4 separate regions of the Homo sapiens genome follow, and regions 2, 3 and 4 are each linked to region 1. Evidence: promoter capture Hi-C in human tissues and cell types (Jung and others, 2019). All regions are on one chromosome and are shown on one strand. Each heading gives the region's core, a stretch centred on a gene start or on the middle of the fragment in contact. The rest is flanking DNA. Distances are from core to core; before and after follow the strand shown.

Region 1 (5,364 bases), core at 2,448-4,947:
GCTGTATAGGAGTCATGGCTGGGGAGGCCTCAGGAAACTTTACAATCTTGGTGGAAAGCGAAGCAAGCACATCTTCATATGGTGACAGGAGAGACAGAGAGAGACAGAGAGAGAGAAGGTGCTTGTGAAGGGGCAGGTGCTACACACTTTTTTTTCTTTTTCTTTTTTTTTTTGAGAGATAGGGTCTTGCTCTGCCACCCAGGCTAGAGTGCAGGGGCTCAATCTTGGCTCACTGCAACCTCCACCTCCCAGGTTCAGCCTCCCAAATAGCTGGGATTACAGGCATGTGCCACCACACCGGGCTAATTTTTTTATATTTTTAGTAGAGACTGGGTTTTGCCATGTTGGCCAGGCTGGCCTCCCAAAGTGCTGGGATTACAGGTATGAGCCACTGCACCTGGCCAAAGAAAGTTTTTTTGTTTTGTTTTGTTTTTTTGTTTTTTTTGAGACAGGGTCTCACTCTGTTGCCCAGACTGGAGTGAAGTGGTGCAATCTCAGCTCACTGCAGCTCTGACTTTCCAGGCTCAAGCAATTCTCCCACCTCAGCCTCCACAGTAGCTGGGACTTTAGGCATGAGCTACCATGCCTGCCTAATTTTTGTATATTTTGTAGAGACGGGGTTTCACCATGTTGCCCAGGCTGGTCTTGAACTCCTGGGCTCAAGTGATCTGCCCACCTCAGCCTCCCAAGTGCTAGGATTACAGGCTTGAGCCACCATACCCAGTTTGTGCTACACACTTTAAACAACCGGATCTTGTGAGAACGCACCCTCACGAGAACTGCAAGGGGGAAATCCACCCCCTTGATCCAATCACCTCCTACCAGGTCCCTCCCCCAACACTGGGAATTACAATTCAACACGAGATTTAGGTGGGGACACAGAGCCAAACCATATCAAATGTATGAGCTAGTCCAAAAAGATACTTTTAAAACAATGTTCGCTTTTACTAAAGATTCAGAAATACAAAGGTACCAAACCAAAAGAAAGGCTTTTGTTCACCCAGGCATCAAGGCCACAGGTGAGACCTGGAAGCTGCTGGGGAGCATCTCACACTGTGCCACAGTCTTCTGGAGGGCCAAGTAGCTATTGGAGAAGAAGATGCTTTGGCTTTTGGTCCAATGGTTAATTTTGCAGGAAAAACAAAAGGGTGGGAAAGCTGTGTTAAATCACCCATAGATGTGATGTTAGGAGAAAGTCAGGCAGCATAGGGGTTAACAGTACAAAATCCAAGTCAATCAACCCAGACTTGAATCCTGGCTCCACCAGTAGCCATTCTGGGCCCCTGTTCTTTCATCTGCAGATGGGACAAAGGTTAAATGAGCTGCTATATGGCAGCATCCAGTCCAATGCTCGGGACACAGGTGTAGCTGTTATTAGAAACAGGTGAATTACCCCAAAGTTAAATGGCATCAGACCTTCTTCAGGAAAGAGAATTCCAGGGTCAGCTCTAGGTCATCCCCCTCCAGTTCTCTTTCCAGCATGGTGAGTGGTCATGATTCAGCACGAAGGCTTCCAGAGACCCTTGACACACATCCGTATATTCAATACTCTCCCTTCACAAAGGCAAGGAAGTTCCCATCCAAATCTTTAGGTAACACATTTCAGCACTTAAATCTTAAGCATTTAATTATTCTGAGCCACCACTTAACCAGAGTAATTCTCAAATTGGCAGAAAAACTTCATGAGGGGAGAGGAGGAACGAGGAAGAGGTGATGTTATTTTGGTTTGTTTTTTCCCGCCCTCTCTCTGTCTTGTTTCTAGGAGAAAAACAAGTGGACATGTTCCAAGACTCCCAGCAGTGGGAGGGGCGTCAGATTAGTGCACAAATGTCTGCTTTAACCGTAATGTAGAGGAAATACAAGGAACTTGCATTAAATAAAAGATGCCCACAACACTACCAGACATACAGTAAGTGGTAACGAGTTCTGAGGGCCAGCCTGGCTGACACATCCCAATTTTGCATTTGAGGGGAAAAGTACTGTTCTCTGAGGGACAAGAGTGAAACCAGGAGGGGACCAGAACATAGCTCTACTTTCCCAGGGTAGCATTGAGGGGAGAGGTTGGCCAATAGTGGGCGTGAGAGATCACAGCTGGAGGAGATTTAGGGGATTAAGGAGGTGCGGTGCTGATATAATTACTCAGGTAGCCTTGAAGAGTTGCTTCAAAGAATGGAGAGCCTCCCTCCCCAGCACCTGTAGGCATTCATAGTACCCCTCTATTTCTGAGTGGTAGGAAATTTCCATAATTAATAGTTGAGAGAGAGAGAGAGAGAGAGAATACGAAAGAAGGGTGAGGAGCTGTCTCCAGCAGGTGACCCTGCGAGAGGGAAGGATGAGGAGTGAATAGAGAGGTTGGCAGAAGGCACCCCCGTCTCCCTCCTGACTCTCCCTACTTAGGAAGCCAGAGGAGACACACAGGAGGAGGCCACAGTTCTCACAGCCCCCAAAGGGAAAACACAGTTACCCTCCACAACACCAGGAAGTGACCCGAAGCGCTGAAATCAGCTACCCGAGTAGTGAAACCTAAGTCATGGTTGCTGTTCTGCCCCCAGAAGGGGAGCAGTCACCAGTTGTTCATCGCGACAGAGCAGATACACTCAAACCCCGGTGCCCTGTGCCAAGACGTGCCCACTTCACCTGCACACCCTCCTTGACCATCCGGCACGCGGCCCTGGGGCTTGATGAAGCCCTGCACCCAAAGTCCCTGGCAGAGGGATGAGTCACGAACTTGGGCCCTGGCAGCAGAGGGCTGGGTCGGCCAAGGCCAGATGGAGCTTGATTTGCAATTTCATCAGCCTGTTCCGCTCTGAGGAAAGGCACGATGTGATCTTGGTGTTGTCTAATTCACAGGCTCGCCCTGTTCTTAAAGGTGAAATTGCACTGTTTGCTAATTCTTCTAGTCCCCCAGAGAACTGGAGCTCAGAGGGATTGTTCTGACGCTGTAAGAGTAAGGAAAATGAGGTTTCGAAAATCAAAGCTGAATACAGGCTATCCCAGAGGAGTCTGCAGAGCGCAGCCTCGGGAGGCCCCGGCCAAGAGGCCTTGGCCTCCCGGTCCCAACCTGGCGCGCCGTCAGAGGTGCTGTCCCAGCCCGGGCGCTGGCGGTCCACGCACCGCTCCTACCTCGGGAGGACATCCGAAGGGTCACGGCCGCTGGACATGCTGTCTTTTGCAACCCCGGCCCCAGCAGGCCCTTTACAGTGAGGGGTCTCCCGCAAGAGAGGGCAAGAACCATCCTAAGCCCCGCTCGCGGAGGGCGGGAAAAGGGGAAGACGGCTAGGTTGGTCCTGCCCACCGGAAAGTCGGAAGAGTAAGAGTAGCAAGAAGCCTTGGGGCTGCAGGTGGGACCTCAGGGAGCCGTGTCTACTAGGAGGACGCGTGGACACGTCCCTCCTGGAGTTTCGATTCAAAATGCGCCCGAATGAGGTAGCGCCGCTCTCACTAGGAGCAAAAGATCCGTCCACGTCGGTTCCAGAAACCTCGTGTCCCCCAAGCCTGCCCGCCCGCCTCACCTGCCAGGCGGCTGAACTCGCGCGCCCGCAGCTCGCGCAGGCTGCCCGGGCCGTAGCCGTAGGCTAGCCGCGGTGCGCTCGGGTCCCGGGAACCCGCGAAGGTCCACAGCTCCCGCCCTGACTCCGCCGCCGCGCCGGCCATGGCCCCGGCTAGTCCATCCAGGCCGGCCGGGCCCGGGAAGTGCGCGAAGCCGGCCCCCGGCGACTCCGCCCCCGCCACGCCTCCCAGGCCTCCAGCCTCCCAGTCTCTCGGAATCCGCAGCCTAGGTGTGGCGCCCCGACCGGACTTTCACTTCTGGCCAGCCCTTTCCCCACCTGGGCGCGGGAGCGGGTGCCAGTCTTTAAACAACCTCTCGATGGGTCCCACGAAGATGTTTCCAGACCCTTGGAATGCCAAGTTCAAGTTTAGCTATGTCTCGCGGAGAGGCCGGTGGAAGAAGCAACGAGGTGATCTTTCCTGCTTGGCATCGGCATCCTGGAACCCCGCGACCCTCCTCCTCGCAGGGGTCTCGGGACCCTCACCCTCTCAAGCGGGAACCGGCGTCTGGCGGGGGCGGGGGTGGGGGCGTTCTCGGGTTGCTGCTACCCAGCGGGGCGTGTGCTTGCCGTTTGTTAGAATGCGGCTGACCAAAGGGTAGAAAAGGGGAAAGATTAGGGATCCACGAGGCTAATAAATTCTCAGTGGCTGCACACTTTCGGAACCGGGAAGCTCGGGGGCTTCCCCCGGAGCGGGCCCTGCAGCTGGGATCCAAGTGAGCTGAGCTTCCCCGCCCTCCCAACCGCGTCCTGGGCCCTACTTCCTGCCCTTGCCTCCCCAACCCTGCATCCCGCCCCGCACTTCCCGCACGTGGGTGTGGCCGGGCCCTCTCTATTAAAGCAAGAGTGCCCTAGGACAAAGCCGCCCCTGTCCCGGACAGAGTGGAATAAGAGCGCCTCCTTCAATCCCCACTCGCGCCTGCACCCAGAGCACCTGGGACACAGCGGCTCTGTCTTGGAGAACAGGTGCCTCAATAGGGAGGGCCTGGCCAAACCTATGCGCGGGAAGTGCGGAGCGGGATGCAGGGGTGGGGCGGCAGGTGCAGGTAGTAGAGCCCAGGCATGCGGTTGGGGGGTGGGGGGAAATCTCACGTGCGATCCCAGGTGCGGAACCCGCTGCTGGGAATGGGGTGGAAGCAAAACAGGTACTGCACGCACAGGCGAGGTGCCTCGTGGGGGAATCGAATGTCAGGGATGGTGGACAGTGCGGATGGGCGGCAGGTGCTGGGGCTCAGGGGAGATAACTCAGAGGCAGGCTCGGTGGAGAACCCAAGGCCGGCGACCAGGTGCAGGCGGCCCACAGGCCCTGGAGGCATACAGCGGGGGGACAAGGTGGGAAGGAGGCCTATGCCCCAAGAGCTCAACCTGTGCTGCATCCAGGCCAGCTGCCACCCAGGGTATGGGCCGCAGATGCCCTAGGATCCTTGCTGATGCATGATGCATACCGGTGCCCAGCGTGAGAGCCATGGGAAGGCAGCACGCAGCCCTGGCTCTCCCGCCCAGGCCCCTGATACCAGGCCAGAGAAAGACCCGCCACTAAGAGCTCATTTCCCCCTGGCCGGAGACCCAGGGGTCTGTGGACTGCAGCGCTAGGGTCCATGCCCAGGTACCCATATTCCTCAGTGGCCTCTGCCCACTGACCACCCCCGCTCTCTCCCTCACTGCTGAATGTCCAGGACCTTACTCGACAAACACCCATAGTTGTTCGAGGAGGAGTTAATGTACTGATGGATGGATGCAGGCATTTGCTCATTGACATCACTGCCCACCCCACCATCTGCTTGCCTTCTGGCCATGCTTCAAGCAGGCACTTTGG
Region 2 (6,001 bases), core at 163-2,662, 65 kb after region 1:
ATAAAATGTTAGAAATTTGGTTTAGAAAAGCTTATTTTAAAATATATTTGGTAAGTGAAAGCTGTATTTTTCTGCTCGATCTTAATACATTTGTGAATTTTGCTTTCCTTTTACAAAACACAGACTAATTTAACTTTTTGAAACCCACTTAATAAAAAGAGACAAATTCTGCCTGGCTATTAGTACTGTGATAGACTGCAGCAATGTGAGTTATCTGCTTTATCTGTTAGTGTAATTGCCAAGAAATAAAATATGTGACCCTTTATGTACCCAAGAAACTTGGAGGTTTTCTTCAGAGTTGAATGTTTATGTATGTATTTAAAGATTTACACTTCATGACACATAAAACAAGTTTGGTAAAGTGAATTTACTTTTCCATCAGATATTTGGAATAGATGCTCAGTTAAAAAATATGCGTGTTTCATTCTTTAAATTCCCATTAAAGGTTTTCAAGTATGTGGGAAAAGGAAATCACACCATACCTAGAGCACTACAAATCTCATGTTCCATTCAGTAGTTAAAGAAAACTATGTTGCTCTGACAAGCTCTCGGACCACCAGATGGCAGACATTCGGGAATACCTACTGATAGAAAGTGGCGTGTGTATGGGGTGTACTCTGTGATCCCCCAGTATCTTAGTGTGTTCCACACCCGATTCCCTAATGTGCAATAGCAGTAGTTACTACTCCACTCAGTTACAGGCTGCTAGGGCAGTGCACCTGGATCTCGGGTACATGCCAGGACCCAACACACACACACACTAGGCTTCTTACAATGCTAGTGTGATGACATTGGTATGGGCTTTTCAGTTGGGAAAATAAGCAGTAGAAACTGTGCACATTAAGTCTAGTATTCCTGTTATTTGTGGCCATGGTAATTCGTCAAGCATTGAAAATGCTCACTATTTATATATTATGGGGGTCACTGGGAATGTATCTGAAGTACATGACATGCATTAAGTTCTAGATAGCTAGCTGCTCATTGGTCATTTTATTTTTAATGTCCTAAACTTCACCTCATCTCTGAAGTATCTGAATAATTGCATAACTGAATGATTTCAATTTTGACCTTACCTAGCCAACTTTCTGACTCGGTGTGTGAAACTGATGAATTTATAAATAACAAATTATTTTGCCTTCAGTCTCATGCAAGTCACCACCATAGTCATAGCCATGAAGAACCAGCAATGGAAATGAAAAGAGGACCACTTTTCAGTCATCTGTCTTCTCAAAACATAGAAGAAAGTGCCTATTTTGATTCCACGTGGAAGGGTCTAACAGCTCTAGGAGGCCTGTATTTCATGTTTCTTGTTGAACATGTCCTCACATTGATCAAACAATTTAAAGATAAGAAGAAAAAGGTAAGAAAAAGTATACCGAGTACTTACTATGCTTCAGATATTTATTTATAGTAGTACTCTAACTAGATTGTTAGAATAGCATGCCCAGGTTGTATGAGCTTTATTTGAGAGGGAGTTCAGTACCCTTGAAGTACTTTTTGGTCCCAGAGATATTTATGAGGAGCATTTCTATATCTTAATAGCTCTGAAGTTTTCTGTCTTTGCTATTCTTTTGAAACTCATGACAGGATAAGAAAAGCAAGGATGAACATCTGTATAAGTGACCAGACAAGGTACCAGCAGGGCCTTGAAGACCAGAAGCATCGTGTATACATGGATACACTATCAATATTTATTAGTAGTTACGATTAACTAATGTCATTAATTTCCAGTCACCCAGTAGCTAAATGTTCTGTTTTCTTTTAAAGGGTATGTGACTTTTACAGACTTGCCCTTTGCAAATTGGATCAGAAATGGTATGAAGTCAAACAATAGGCTCTTTCTTTCTGGCCAAAAAAAACCCTTTTGAGTCGCCTATGGTAATTTGCCACTTTTTATTTGATGTGATCAGGCAAGTCATTCAGAAGACTGTCAGGAGACTCTTAAAAATGATGTGGGTCAGGTGGGGTGGTTCATGCCTGTAATCCCAGCACTTTGGGAGGCCAAGGCAGGCAGATCACTTAAGGCCAGGAGTTCGAGACCAGCCTGGCCAACATGGTGAAACCCCATCTGTACTACAAATACAAAAATTAATCAGGTGAGATGGCGCATGCCTGTAATCTCAGCTACTTGGGAGGCTGAGGCACAAGAATTGTTTGAACTTGGGAGGCGGATGCTGCAGTGAGCTGAGATTATACCACTGCACTCCAGCCTGGGCAATAGTGAGACTCTGTCTCAAAAAATAAAAAAAAAAAAAGAAAAGAAAAGTGATGTGTTCATATCTCAACATTTTAGTCTAACCTAATACATCTGTACACTCATATTCTGGTCACTTGATATTGACCAGGATTTTCTTCAAGTTGGAGTTCCGTATTCTGTATCGTTTCTTTTTTTCTTTATCAGCCATGCTGCTTCATCTATGATTTCCAATTTTGGTTTCTCTAAAATTGAACAAGAGATTACACACTTAAAGCTATTCTGAATGTAGAATCTAGGTTTTGGAAATTTAAAAAAAAAATTTATTCAGTGGTAGCCTTACGTAATTTGATATCTTTTTTTAGCACCTTGCCTTTGAATCTTCCAAGTATTCAGCTTTTGTGTTCACGGAATTAAGTATCCCCTACCAGGCACGGTGGCTCACGCCTATGATCCTAGCACTTTGGGAGGCTGAAGCAGCAGGATTGCTTGAGGCCAGGAGTTTGAGAGCAGCCTGGGCAACATAGCAAGACACTGTCTCTACCCCCCAAAAAAGAAGTAACTCCTTACCATCATTTCATAGTTTGAGCAATGTGTAATTAAATTGTGCAATTACAGTAATAAGTATAACTGGCGTGAAGAGGTTTCAAAACTAACACAGTTGATTTTTGCTGAGCATAGAGCTCACTGTGGGAAACAAATGCATGTGTAAACAGGAGAGTGTTTACATACTAGGAGTATTTGCTCTTAGGGATTTTACGTTCACTGAAATCTCAAATTAAAAATTTTGAGCCTTCTCTTTAGTGGACCTAAATATAGAGGGAAGAAGTAAAATAAGAATAGCTTATTTATTCTTAATCAAGGAAGTCATCTTCTGTGTTCCCATTGACGCAATTGCTTCCCTTGGACTGTTTCTTAATGTTATTGAATAGTTTCTAATCTCATTTAATTATCTCAAAAAGAAAAAAAAAAGCTACTCATTATATGGTGAGTACTGGGAGCTCTTCAGGCATTTTTTACTTAGAATTTTCCTTAAGAGAGCCATCTTGCACCTCTGGGAGATCCCATGTATCATAGTTTTAGGTTATCTGCCATATATGGACTAGTTTATTCCTACTTCTTTAAGTCTTCTGCAGTTTTTCTTACATTTAAAAAAAAGATCAGTTTTCATTCTGGGAGACTTGGGGATTGGGTTGTTTTCTTCTTTTTTTAACTGTACATCTGGGTCAAAATGTCATAATTTATTTAACATTCTCATTTCAATTTCATTTCCAAATTTTACCTAAATACAGCTTTTCTTTTTTTTTCTTTTTTTAAGAAAACAGTATCTTTTTTTAAGAGACAGCATCTTCCTCTGTTGCCCAGGTTAGAGTGCAGTGGCATGATCATAGCTCATTGCGCTTCAAATTCCTGGATTTAAGCAATCCTCCCACCTCAGCCTCCCAAGTAACTGAGACTACAGGCTCATGCCACCATGCCCAGCTAAGGATAGCTTTTCTTTAACTTAGCCCTCTTTAACCTAGGACTCCAAGAAATAGGCCCTCTGTTATCTGACACAGAATAATTTTTTCTTTTTTAACTCTAGGTTATAACTCTAGATTGTTAGTGAGTTGTAAAATCAATCTGTATGTCATAACCAATATTTTTAAATGCAACAATAATATTATATATTACTATTTTACATTACATATATTAATGTGGGTCATAGTCAGAGTAGTTTGATGCACTCTGCTTTAAAATAGTATCTACTAGAATGTAAGCTCTTAAAAGCCAGGATCTCTCTGTCTTGTTTACAGCTCTGTCTCCAATGTGTAGAATAGTGTCTGGTACATAATCGATGGTAGTAAATATTGAATGTTTAAGGAGCATGAAACAGCAAATAAGCATAATTTCTAGATGAAGACTTCCCATAGGAGTTTTGCAAATGTTACATGTTCTCTTCCCTTTTTGGAATATGCTGAGTTTATCTTTTGTTAAAGGCATCCAGATATTAAAGTTACTTACTTAATAATTTTTAATCTAATTCTCTCAAAAAGAAAACTACTACTCATTATATTGTGAGTATGGGGAGTTCTTCAAGCTCGTAACAGGGCATTTTACTTAGGATTTTTCTTAAGAGATCCATCCTGCATCCCTGGGAGATTCTGTATATCATATTTTTAGGTTATAGGCCTTCTGCTGCTTAAGGTTCACCTTCTGCTAGTGAAGGTTATTGTTCATGCCGAAAACTAGAGAATCATCTCTGATATCCCCCTCATCCCCACATCCAACCAAGTTTTAATAAATATGTCCATGGTCTCTCCATTCCTCTCCATCTTTCTTGCTGTCATTCTAGTCCAGGCCATGGTTACTTCCCACCTGAGTGACAGTTACTGCCTCCTAATAGGAGCCTGTCCACGTTATTTTGTTTTCCTCCTTTTCCCAATCTAGATTTCACAGAGCGGGCAGTGATTTGTTTAAATGAAAATATGATGAGGTTGCACACCACTACTTAAAATCCTTCCTCCAGTGGCTCCATTAGTTTTTGGACAAAGCCCACTATTCTCAACAGAGTTCTATTGTCTGATCTCCTTTAGTTGCCTCAGCCTCATCTCTGGCCACCCTCTCTGACCTAGTAGGCCCCGGCCACCTTGTACTTCTTTGAGTTCCAGAACAGTGCTGGCCCCTTCCTGGTGCTACTCCCTGCCTGGAATGCTGCCTCCCCAACCTTCCCCACCAAATTCCTACCTATCTTTAGGTCTTGGTATAAGTTATATTTTTTCAGTGGCCATCTGGAAATTATTGAGGTCATGTTATTATACATTCTTAATAGCACTCTGTTCTTTTCTATTGTAAAATGTGTCAAAAATTATAGTCAAAGAAGTATATAATCATTACCTGTGTAAAACCCTCTCCCTGTGGATAGTAAGCTCCATGAGAACAGAGACTGTGGGGCTTATTTTATGTTCTGCTCCCAGCATTTAGCATAGGGAACACTGTGGGCCCTTAATACTTATGGAATGAAAGAATTGGTTAAACTACTTTCTAGAACAATTGCCCAATGAGAAATAAAGCACCAGCATAAATGATTTAAGATACCCTGAGTTCATTTATTTTTACAAATATTTAAGTACTTTCTCTGATTGAGGCATTATATTCAGGATAAGTGTAAAGATTTGTGTGTGTGTTTGCCTTTTTTTTTTTTTTTGAGATGGAGTCTCACTCTGTCGCCCCGGCTGGAGTGCAGTGGCGCGATCTCTGCTCACTGCAAGCTCCGCCTCCCAGATTCACGCCATTCTCCTGCCTCAGCCTCCTGGGTAGCTGGGACTACAGGCACCCGCCAACACGCCCGGCTAATTTTTTGTATTTTTAGTAGAGACGGGGTTTCACCATGTTAGCCAGGATGGTCTCGATCTCCTGACCTTGTGATCCGCCCACCTCGGCCTCCCAAAGTGCTGGGATTACAGGCGTTCGCCACCATGCCCGGCCGTGTTTGCCTTTAAAAGCTCTTAAAATCTAAGAATGTATAGACACTTGATATGGTATTAGAGCTTGAATGAAATCTTAGGTATGGTGGTGATCATCATATTCAAAGGTACTGCAAATAAGAAATCTGTTATTTATGTGATAACTTTTATTTTAAATGTTCTGTATAAGTAGATGATACACAGACACCATTGTTCAAACAGTGACCTTTACACAACATAAAGGCTGCTTGGACTTAGGGACAATATCTCTGGTATGGTATTTGGGATGGTTAAAAAGCCCAGTGATGAATTCAGGGTTAATAGAGGCTTGTTTTAAAAGAGAAATCATGTTAATGGTGTT
Region 3 (5,337 bases), core at 691-3,190, 120 kb before region 1:
GCCACTCTTTGGCTCTGATCAAGCAGTCAGAAGATGCCTTGGTTATCTTCTATTCTGAGAACTTAAAAAAATCTTGGGCTTGTCCCACACACTCTGGTTACAGCTCTGGCATTTCATTCTCTGCTATAAAAATCAGTGCATGATGAGGCACCTCAGCACCACAGGAGTTTCCTTCTTGGTTTTCTCTTCTTCAAGAACGTTAAAGATATTCAAAGAGAAACTAATTTGTTTCATTTTTGCCAAGTCTAGGAATACCTTTCTATATTGAACTGCAAGTTGTTTAACATTTTCCCTTTTTTCAAGTTGATCAAAAATTTTAAGATTTTCTTTTCTAACATTAAACTCTAAACATTTTTCCTTGGAGTCTAACATTTTAACATCTAGATTACAAAACTAACTGGTGAAGAGGAGTTGGATGTTTCCAGTTTGTAAATAGATACAATGTAGATTCCATTTGTTACTATGTGTCTCTAAAAACAGAGAAACTTCTGGGTATATATTTTGCAGATTGGTGATAATTTTTTTTCAAAAAATAATTGATCTTCCTCCCTCTTTAACAGTTAATTCATAAATAAGTTTATCTGCCCATAGAAAATCAATGTTGACTGTAATTATAAGGGTGCCAAGGTATACAACTTACATTTTCATGTACATTAAAGCATCACTGCCATTCACTGTAAACTGAGAACCTCTTCTGAGGCATACTGAAGGCGGACGCAGAGCTGGCTCACTGGGAACTGGACAACACCCCAGTGTGGCTATGCAGGCATGTCATGGGCATCAACAGCCTTAGGAAACTGAGTGCCTTTATATATTGTTATCACTTATTATAGCCTTAGCAACTTCACAGTTTAGTAATAAAAATTTAGGAGCATATACTGAAACCACAGGTATAATATCTCTACCTTAGCATTTCGCTTACTAAGCTAATAGTTTATGTAACTGACAATTGTTTACTTCATCATGGGAATTGATTGAGCCTAGAAAGACACCCTGAACATAAAAAGACAGATGCCCTACACTTGTTTTTCTAAGATTCTAAGGAGAACACAACAATCAGGGTGGGAAGAAAAGTATCATTGGAGGTATGAAAAAAAAAATCCACTGATGGTTAGCTATCTCAGCCATAGAAAACACACTCAGATCATACAGTAACACTTAATGAAAGAGCTCTGATCCCAAGGGGACTATTGGAATTGTAACCTAATTTTTTTAGCTCTTTTATTAAAATATTTCAGTATATGCACAAGTATAGAAAGTAGTATCATGAGCCCTCCCCACATACCTATAATCCAACTTTAACTCACAGTCTATCCTGTTCCATCCATATATTGACTCACCTACTTGTCTCTTATCTGGAATTATTCTGAAGCAAATTCTAGACATCATATAATTTCAGTATGTATCTCTGAAAGCCATAAACTGTTACTTAAACCTAACCACAATACTATTATCACACTTTAAAGTTAATAATTTTAATATTAAACATCACTGCTCACATGTTCAAGTGATCTCAAATATTTATTTTATAATGTATTTGAATCAGCATTCAATCACAGCCACATATTACCTTTGGTTGATGTATCTCTTTAATCTCTTTTCATCTAAGGTTTCCTTCCACCTTTTTCTTTCTTTTGCAATTTATTTGTTGGAGAAACTGTAATTTCTCACAATCTGGATTGCGCTGATTGGCAAAGCTTAACATTCACTGTAACTTAATTTTCCCCATTCTTTCTAACTTAGTTCAGAACAAAGCTCAGAAACAGTCCCCCAGCTCCCCCTTCACCCCCAAAAATCTTCTGATTGTCTCTCTAATGGAGCAGATGCTGACAAACCCAAGACTCTGAAAATGGCCAGCAGAGGAGGACCCAGCTATGCCTCTAAGCCAGCCACAGGCAACAGCAGTGTTATTGAGAGATGAGGTGTGGAGGTTGCCTGGAGCAGGTGATTGCTGTCCTCTGAAGACAGAAAAGTTCCCAAGTGTTCAAAAGTATCATCGTCAGAGAGAGATAAAATATGGAGAGAAAAGGAGGGTGGGGGAGGGCTGTTCCTGAGTTGGCCTCAGCATGTTAATCTGTTTTAAAGTCGACACTATTAAGAACTAACATTTCAGAGTCCAGAGTGGGAGGGCAATGGCAGTCCTGTTGTTTTCCAGAGGGACTCAGGTTGGAGTCCGAGGACAAAACGCATAGACACAGAGCATCAACCCTGGGAGGACTTGCCAGAGCACAACCACTTAAATCACAGCACTGTGACAGGCAGCCGCATGCAAAGGCAATGCAGTCAACCCTACCCCACCCCCATCTGCACAGAGAGCATGGGCTTTGCTGATTTTCTAATAATGGGACAGAGTTAACAATAGGATTTGGAGGAAAAAAAAAGATGACCTTAAATCTTAGCTCCTTCACTTAAACGCAGTATAGCCCTAGGCAACCTGCTTAACCTCCTGTGCCTCAGTTTCCCCATCTGTTAATTGGGGATTCCTCATCTGCCTGCCTGCTAGAGTTGTTGTGAGGATAAATAAAGCTATACATGGAGACCTACAGTGCAGCCTCCAGCATAAGTTCATGACATAGCAGCCCCTTCCTTCCCAAAGATTGATGCCAGTCTATTCCAACCCAGATCGTTGCAAGAGGCCATGACAGCACCTGCTGGATGTCTGGCTAGGTTACCGATATGGTCTGTGGCCATGCATGAAACAAAGCCAACTGACCCATGAAGGGTTCAATCCCATGATCCTGATCTCAATAGCAAGGCTCCAACCAACTGAGCTAATTACAGTGGAGTCAGATTTGATTCTGCTTACATGGAGACACTCTTAGCTGTTCATACAACATTCTTAAAACAGTGTTGTCCTAAGATACTATGACACAACACACTTGCCAAGTTTACTAATGATCTCATCTTTTAAAAATCTTAATGTAATGTAGCAAACAGATGTGTCCCTTAAGAGGATTAAGGTGGAAATTCATTAGTGCAATAATACCAGTGGATTTGTGTTCTAAAACTAACACCAATCAATCAACTTAGTGCACATTCTATCTTAGCACTACTTAGCTTCGAGGGAAACACCAGAGAACTGAACAGCCAGGTCTTCTCCCTCAGGGAAGTTATCTGAGAACAGGGGAGACAGTGAGAACCCCCATGTACTGAGAGCCTGACCTAAATCACCTGTAATCCATGCTGTTCAGACTGCAGTGTGCACAAAAATCACCAGGCCATCTTGGTGAAGCATGTGTTCTGATTCAGCAGGTCGGGGGGGAGGGGCGGTGGCAGCACCTGAGTGTGCATTTCTAATACAGCCCAGGTGATACACAGCTCACACTTGGAGTAGCTAGATTCTATCCTCACTGCAATCAGCTGTTTACAGATGGGATAGCTGAGGCAGCGAGGCAACCACAAAGACAAGGGTAGTGAGAAAGGAATGAACACAGTACACTCAAGGCTAATCCAATGAGAGGATGCACGCTGAAATGTGGACAGGCTGCCTGGAAGGAGAACATTCAGGACACAAAAGTGGAGTCCTTAAGAGCTTAGACCTGCTGTCACATGCCAACTCGGAACTTCTCACTCATGTGACCAGGTGACTTCCTTCCAATCTTGGTCTCTCCTTCTATGAGCTGCAACAGTATCAGTACTTGGCCCTCGAATGGCCATGGGCTTGGTAAGCTGATGTCCCTCTAGGATGGTTCTCAGCTCAGGCAAATGCCTAGGACATGACAGCTATTATAACTCCACTCTGTCCAGCTCACTCCGGGCAACAAAACATTTCCTGAATTAAATCATTAAGTAATAATTGTCATTTTAACATGTACACTAAAAAAGTCACCAGTGTTTTGTAAAAATATTCTACAGTTCCAGTGTTGGCTATCAAAGTGAAAAAAGAATCCTTAGATCATTAAATGCCAGTAGCACAAATCAATCCAAACACATTTTAAGCTTTAAAAGGACTATGATTCTATGAATGCTACTGCAGAGGTTTTTCTAAATTAGAACTCCTATAATTACCATTTTTCTTTTAAAATATTAAGCCAGAAATAAACATTTACTTTTGCAGCATTTCAAAACAAAAACTAAATGTCTTGCTTAGCCCAACCTAGAACATATAACCATCAAAATGAACATCTCCCCAATGAGAATATGGCACCTGATTTGAACTTTTTGTTAGAAAACTAATGTTTATTTAATCATATTCCCTAGAACTACTATAAGCAGATGAAGTTTTTTAAAATAATGTATCAGTTTAAGAAATAAAAAATGATAAAGCATAATAAGCACAATCTCTTATTTTTGCATAAGATGACAATTTTATTAAATGAACAACTTCAACTTCTAATGGAGTCAGCAGACGTGAACTAAGTTACTACATCATTAGGTTAAGAAAAGATGTCCACACTCAAGTTTCAGCCAGGAAAGGCCTGACAGGTTGTCCAGTTCAAAGGTTGCCAGCACAGGAGAATCCCTAGGAGAGCTTTAAAAATTAGGACCCTCTGAGGGGGCCTTCTCAGCGCTGCCTACACAGGTACATTTACTTTAAGAAGATTCACCCAACTGCACACTTATACCCTGTACACTTTTTTGTATATGTGACCACTTCAGTCAAAAGTTTACTCCCAGCCAGGCACGGTGGCTCACACCTGTAATCCCAGAACTTTGGGAGGCCGAGGTGGGCAGATCACTTTGAGCTCAGGAGTTTAAGACCAGCCTGGGTAACATGGTGAAACCCCATGTCTACAAAAAATAAAAAAATTAGCAAGGTGTGGTGGTGCATGCCTATAGTCCCAGCAACACAGGAGGCTGAGGTGGGAGGGATCACCTGAGCCCAGGGAGGTCAAGGTTACAGTGAGCCATGATCACACCACTGCACTCCAGCCTAGGTGACAAGAGTGAGACCCTGTCACAAAAAAGAAAGAGAAAAAAAAAAAGTTGACTCCCTCAGGGGCTTGAATGTGCAGGAGAGCTGAGAGCACTCTGAGTGTCTGCCTGTCCCACGCTCATGCTTCTCCCCTCTTTGTACCACTGAGAATGCGCTCGCTGCACAGAACTCCACTTCTTGTCAATACCAGGCTCTGTGGGACCCGGAAGAAGCACGCCCTGTGGCCCAAAAAGCCTCACTGGTGGCAGGGTCCTGGTATGATAGCTCACCCAGGTCAACAGACCCCTCAATAGCTAATTCACAGCAGAGTTGATAACTATATGTTACCACTTCTGACTATGCACTCTGTGTCAGGCCAGGAATTCTGCCTCAAGGCTTTTACTCATTTATAACATTCACCTGTCCCCAGGCCTAAAAGTGCTTGGCCCTTGAAGGTGACCGGGTGAACCCCTCCAGTTAAT
Region 4 (5,452 bases), core at 2,905-5,404, 72 kb before region 1:
TGAAACACTTAGTTCTTCTCCTTTGAAGCCATGTGAATAGTTTCTAATGCTTTCCTGTGATCAATAATTTTGCAATAAAGGCCTAATTCACATAACTGTCTTTCCTTTTCATTTTTTTTGTAGTATCAGTCTCCCAAAATGAAATTATAAGGTCAACAGGAATAAAAAATATTTATGACTTGATGACATCCAGTAAAAAATTGTTTTCCAAAAGAGATGTGCTAGTTTCACAGTAATTGCTTCGGCACTGAGTATTATCATCAACAAACATCTTTTGAGCATTTGCTTTTTTTTGAGACAGGGTCTTGCTCTGTCACCCAGGCTGGAGGGCAGTGGCTTCATCATAGCTCACTGCAGCCTTCATTTCCCAGGCTCAAGCAATCCTCCCACCTCAGCCTCCTGAGTAGCTGAGACCACAGGGATGTACCACCATGCCCAGCTAATTTTTTAATATTCTGTAGAGATAAAGTCTTGCTGTTTTGCCTAGGCTGGTCTCAAACTTGTGAGCTCAAGTGATCCTCCTTCCTTGGCCTCCTAAAGCATTGGGATTTCAGGCATGAGCCACTGTGCCCAGCCAAGCATTTACTTTCTTGAAAGGCACAGTATTGCCAAGCGTGGTGGCCTATGCCTATAATCCCAACACTGGGAGGCTGAGGCTAGCACGTCACTTGAGCCCAGGAGGTTGAAACCAGTCTGGCCAACATGGTGAAATCCCATCTCTACCAAAAATAAAAAATTTAGCCAGGTGTGGTGGTGCACGCCTGTAGTCCCAGCTACTCAGGAGGCTGAGGCAGGAGGATTGCTTGAACCTGAGAGGCAGAGGTTGCAATGAGCCAAGATTGCACCACTGTACTCTAGCCTGGACAACAGAGTAAGACCCTGTCTCAAAAAAAAGAAAGGTGCAGTATTAACCATATCTTATGCTCTTTAATGCTCGTGCTGGACTAATGCATATAGCTATTATTGATTGACTGATTGACTGACAGGATCTTGCTCTGAGACCCAGCCTAGAGTACAGTGGGGCAATCTTGATTCACTACAGGCTTGAGCTCCTGGGCTCAAGCAATCCTCCCACCTCAAGGAGCTGAGACTACAGGCGCACATCACCGTGCCTGGCTAATTTTTCGTGTGTGTGTGTGTGTGTGTGTGTGTAGAGAGAGACGAAGTCTTGCTATGCTGCCCAGGCTGGTGAAAATAATTTTATACTTATTTTAATACTTGTATTAGCGTTTCTATGGGATAGATTTCTACAAGTGAAATTATTGAGTCAAAGGGCATGCATATTTTGATTTTTACTAGTTGTGGTCTATTAAGAATGGTGACCTAAAGAAAGCAAAGCCTGCTAAGTCATCTCAGAAAGGTTCCTTAAAGAGTCTTCCTTATATTTATGTCTCGAGATACCTGGAGAGGCACAGGTGCTACTGTTGCCAGGTAAGTTTCTGAGAGTAATCTCAGTCTAGTTCTAGTTCTCTTCCCTTTTTTTTCTTCCTTTCTTCCTCTCACTCTCCACCTATTTGATAATGTATATTTAGTGTCTATTTTGTTCCCAGCAGGATGTGTAACAGTAGGCATTTTTTTAAAAAACATGGCAGAGACACAGGGATAGAAAATAAGGAAGAGTAAGTAAGGATGGAGGGATGAGGGAAACGGCAGGAGGGCTAGTGCCTGAGATGGGCTTGTGGGAGAGAATGTAGGACATAATATAGATTGCTTGTCAAGGGGGAGCCACTGTCAGGGTAAGAGGAAGTCTAGGGAGTTAAAAACATCAAAAACATCATTGGAACATTTTATTGTGCCATGCAATTTATTTCCTATACCCCAGATCTCTAAAATTCTTTAATAAAGATTCAAATGACTGTTTACTGCTTTCCTAGATGTTAGAGTGGTGTTCCTTCTGAGTGCAGAGCCTGAATACAAGGTAGCTCGTTATAGTCAGTTTATACCAGTGGCTAATTACACTACCACAGGTTGAGTATTCCTTATCCAATATGCTTGACACCAGAAGCATTTTGAGATTTTTTTTTTAATTTTGGAATATTTACATTATATATCTCTGGTATACTTAACCAGTTGAGCATTCCTAATTTGAAAATCTGAAATCCAAAATGCTCCAGTGGTCATATTCTTTGAATGTCATGTCAGTGCTCAAAAAGTTTTATATTTTAGAGCATTTCAGATTTCAGATTTTTGGATTAAGGATGTTCAGCCTGTATTATAAAAATAATTTCAGCCCCCACTAAAGAACAGAGCACATTCTCTGGCATTAGATATTCCTTATCTCTTCTGTCCATTTCTTCCCTCAACAATTACTTATTGAGCACTGACTCTGGGCCAGTGTCATTCAAGGCCATAGAGGTACAGCAGGGAATAAAACAGACTTGGTCTCACCCTCCCACACACTGCAGGAATAAGCAGAACGTGACCCTGCGGCAGGTCAGGGGCATCCTTTCCAAGAAGGTGACATCTGAGCTGAGACCCTTGGACAACATGCTAAGCAGAAGGGATGGCAAGGGCTAAGGCAGGAAGGGTGGCTGTTTAGGGAACAGAGAGAAGGTCACTGTGACGGAGGCAGAGAGGGAAGGGGTGATGAGCTCAGAGACAGTGGCAGCATGGGATCTCGTAGGGCCTTGTCAACCATGTGAGGAGCACAGATTTTAGCCTAAGACCTTTCGCCTCTTTCTCATATCTTTGAAGCCCATAGCCAAAGGTTTTGGGAGTCCAAAGCCAGGGACAGAGGACATCGTGGTGGCTTTGCCTCTGACAATCTCCTTCCCAGCCACCAGCAAAGGCAGAAAAGGTGAAGCGTGTGGAAGAGTGGGTGGCCATGGGCAAAGAGGCACCGCCAGGCTTCTGGGCCTCCCTCCACAAGCTCCAGACTGCCACAAAGTCCAACAAGTTTCAGGAGGATGACAGTCTCATGACACAAGCATTCCAAAAAACCAGAGTTTAAGTCTGGACATAACGACAGCACAGAGGCAGTGTCGAGCCCTCGCACACCTTCTGTGGTGTGTGCGAAACTGACTGCTACCATCCTCTTGGGAAATAAAGGATGGATTATTCCATGGGGTGTCTTAGAAGGCTAAGCTTACATAACCTCCCACCAAGATTTTGTAGTTAAGAGACAAGGACTGGGAGGGAGTCCCACCTGCAGCTATCCAGGTCTGGGATTGAGGTCAATCTTCATTGACAACCCTGGAGGAAGGATAATAGAACTTCCCCAAACTTACCTGGAAACGCAAAGAGCCAATTGAAATCTCATCCCATTTCTCTTCTTCAAAAGCCCTTTTTCCATTGATAATAATATTGGCACGAAAACGCAAGCTGAGATCCTTCAGTGAGAATAATTCCTCCTTTCCATTCTCATCACTGATTAAAGCAACCAAAAAGAGTAAGTAGGGGGAGGATGGCAGATAATTGTACCACTATAATAATTCATCATGCCTGCCATGTAACACCTAACTTCATCAGCTCTACTGTGGCCTGTGCCCTGGATAATCAAAACAGACTTTTACCATGAGTGCAAGGCCAAGAGACACCCATCTGCTAAACAGGCATCAGGGCCTCCCCTGGGATACGGTCCCATCTCCAGTGAGAGTCCCACAAGAGCCAGGCAAAGGGCGAGCAGATCTTAGCTGAAGAGATGAAGGACTTTGGAAATCAGAAGAACAGAACTCCAGTGAAAAAGGAACTTCTGAGAACACACCAGTTCTATAAGGTGGGGCGGCATAAGGCATTTAAAAACCTGTCAACAGGCTTAATGATCAAAGACCTAAGAAGCACTGAGATCTCATTCCCTTTTTTCCCCCTTCTTTTCACAGGTGTTGAGATCTCACTCTTTTTTTTTTTTTTGGGTATTAAAACATTATAAATAAAGAAGATAGTATTTCCTAATTTCCATTCTATTTGCAGTGTAACATCTGCTATTTTTCTGATACCTTTTTTTTTTTTTTTTTTGAGACAAGGTCTTGCTCTGTCACCCAGACTGGAGTGCAGTGGCACAATCTCAGCTCATTGCAGCCTTGACCAAGATCCCAGGCTCAAGTAATTCTCCTGCCTCAGCCTCCCAAGTAGGTGGGACTACAAGCATGTGCCACCATGCCCAGCTAACTTATTTTTACTTTTTTTAGAGATGGGGTCTCACTATATTGCCCAGGCTGGGTTTGAACTCCTGGGCTCAAGTGATCCTCCCACCTCAGCCTCTCAAAGTGCTGGGATTACAGGTGTGAGCCACCATGCCTAGCCTATTTTTGTAACTCTTATTTTTGTAATTTTTATTTATTGCCATGAGGTTCCAAAAAAAATGGCCCTCTGCACCCCCCACCCCCACCCAGAAGAACGCACTGAAAATACATCTTAAAACTTCTCTGACAAAAGAACACATCCTGTATGATCCCACCATATTAAGTTGAAGAATGGGTGAAACTAGCTATGGTGAAAGAAGTCAGAATAGTGGTGACCTTCAGTGAGGCTGACTGGGATGGGATACAAGGGAGGTTTCTGGAGTACATTCTTAGCTTGATCTAGGTAGTGGTAGTTGCTGGTGAAGATCCAAAACACTTAATGTGTTTATCAGCAGATACTTTGCCTCATTCAACAGAGGAAGGGTGGCTGTTGTACCAGGAGATTGATCTGAAAATGATGGAGCATAGCCGTATACATCTGTAAAACTGTATTTAACTGTGTACTGATGACTTTTGCACTTTTTTGTGCTTCAATCAATTTTTAATTGCTTAAGTTGGTGTGAGGTAAATCCTCAGGCATGGTTAGAGTATGCGCCAGAGACAGGGTTGAAAGACTATGGGGTTGGGAAGGAGGAGTCCCAATCTCCTTTGAATGGCAAACAACGTATGAAAAGCCAGAGACCGGGATACCTGAGTCTGGTTTTGCCACTTACTAAGGGCAACTCCCACAACCTATGAGGACCACAATTTCCTCATCTGCAACAAGAGGATTAGCACTTTTCCAGTCCTCAAATCCTTTGATTCTGGATCAACTCTCTGGGTTATAAACCCTCACTTTGGGCTTCGTAAAAGGGCATGTTTTATGTCCAAAAGCTATCATGGTTAACATGTGCATGATAGAGTCCCTCAAATTTGCAAATAAAGCACAGAGAAATACCTAGCAGGGGACCCTAGCTCTGCTCTTGGATCAGCTGCCCAGCGGGTCCACCCTGCTATAAACCAGATGGTGGGGAACGTGGCCCCTCCTGGTAGGAACTGGGGTGACAGCAAGCCTCTCCCCACCTCCTATCTTTCCACACGAAGAACCCCAAAAAACTGCAGACCCACTTTTTCCAGGACTCTGGATGCCTGAGGAGAAGGGTCCCTCAGTGCCAGAAGAACTCAGTGAATACCCAGAGAACATGTGGCTGCATCACACTTTTGCTCTCAAAGATAGCGAGCTGGGCCACAGTATGAGAATGATGTTGTATATTTTCAACAATGGATAGAAA

Evidence for each region. The method cuts DNA at HindIII sites, captures the fragments that hold promoters and counts their contacts. A contact is called where the count stands out against the background at its distance.
Region 2: a contact is called between a fragment that was not itself captured here and the fragment with the promoter of MOCOS in region 1, in 3 of the 25 tissues and cell types used here (liver, neural progenitor cells and stomach).
Region 3: a fragment that was not itself captured here is called in contact with the fragment with the promoter of MOCOS in region 1 in 2 of the 25 tissues and cell types used here (spleen and stomach).
Region 4: a fragment that was not itself captured here is called in contact with the fragment with the promoter of MOCOS in region 1 in 4 of the 25 tissues and cell types used here (H1 embryonic stem cells, lymphoblastoid cells, mesendoderm cells and 1 more).

The regions. Positions count from the first base shown.
Region 1 is chr18:36,185,830-36,191,193 of GRCh38, reverse strand. MOCOS (molybdenum cofactor sulfurase) reads right to left here and starts at 3,697. Exons shown (of 15, transcript NM_017947.4): 1 at 3,513-3,697. The coding sequence starts at 3,654. It overlaps COSMOC (cell fate and sterol metabolism associated divergent transcript of MOCOS), which reads left to right and starts at 3,759. Exons shown (of 2, transcript NR_134605.1): 1 at 3,759-3,959. It overlaps LOC124904286 (a long non-coding RNA gene), which reads right to left and starts at 72. Exons shown (of 2, transcript XR_007066343.1): 1 at 1-72. RefSeq lists silencers at 3,595-3,784, 3,630-3,893 and an enhancer at 4,653-5,364. The HindIII fragment of the contact is 25,317 bases long and covers 1-5,364 here.
Region 2 is chr18:36,117,411-36,123,411 of GRCh38, reverse strand. It overlaps SLC39A6 (solute carrier family 39 member 6), which reads left to right. Exons shown (of 10, transcript NM_012319.4): 5 at 1,142-1,360. Among named protein-coding and RNA genes, the nearest start is that of SLC39A6, 8.9 kb to the left of the region's middle. The HindIII fragment of the contact is 8,201 bases long and covers 1-5,512 here.
Region 3 is chr18:36,300,320-36,305,656 of GRCh38, reverse strand. The region is part of intron 1 of FHOD3 (formin homology 2 domain containing 3); the gene reads right to left. Among named protein-coding and RNA genes, the nearest start is that of FHOD3, 5.3 kb to the right of the region's middle. The HindIII fragment of the contact is 6,751 bases long and covers 1-5,315 here.
Region 4 is chr18:36,257,951-36,263,402 of GRCh38, reverse strand. MOCOS (molybdenum cofactor sulfurase) reads right to left here. Exons shown (of 15, transcript NM_017947.4): 13 at 3,228-3,366. Among named protein-coding and RNA genes, the nearest start is that of FHOD3, 37 kb to the left of the region's middle. The HindIII fragment of the contact is 5,571 bases long and covers 1,369-5,452 here.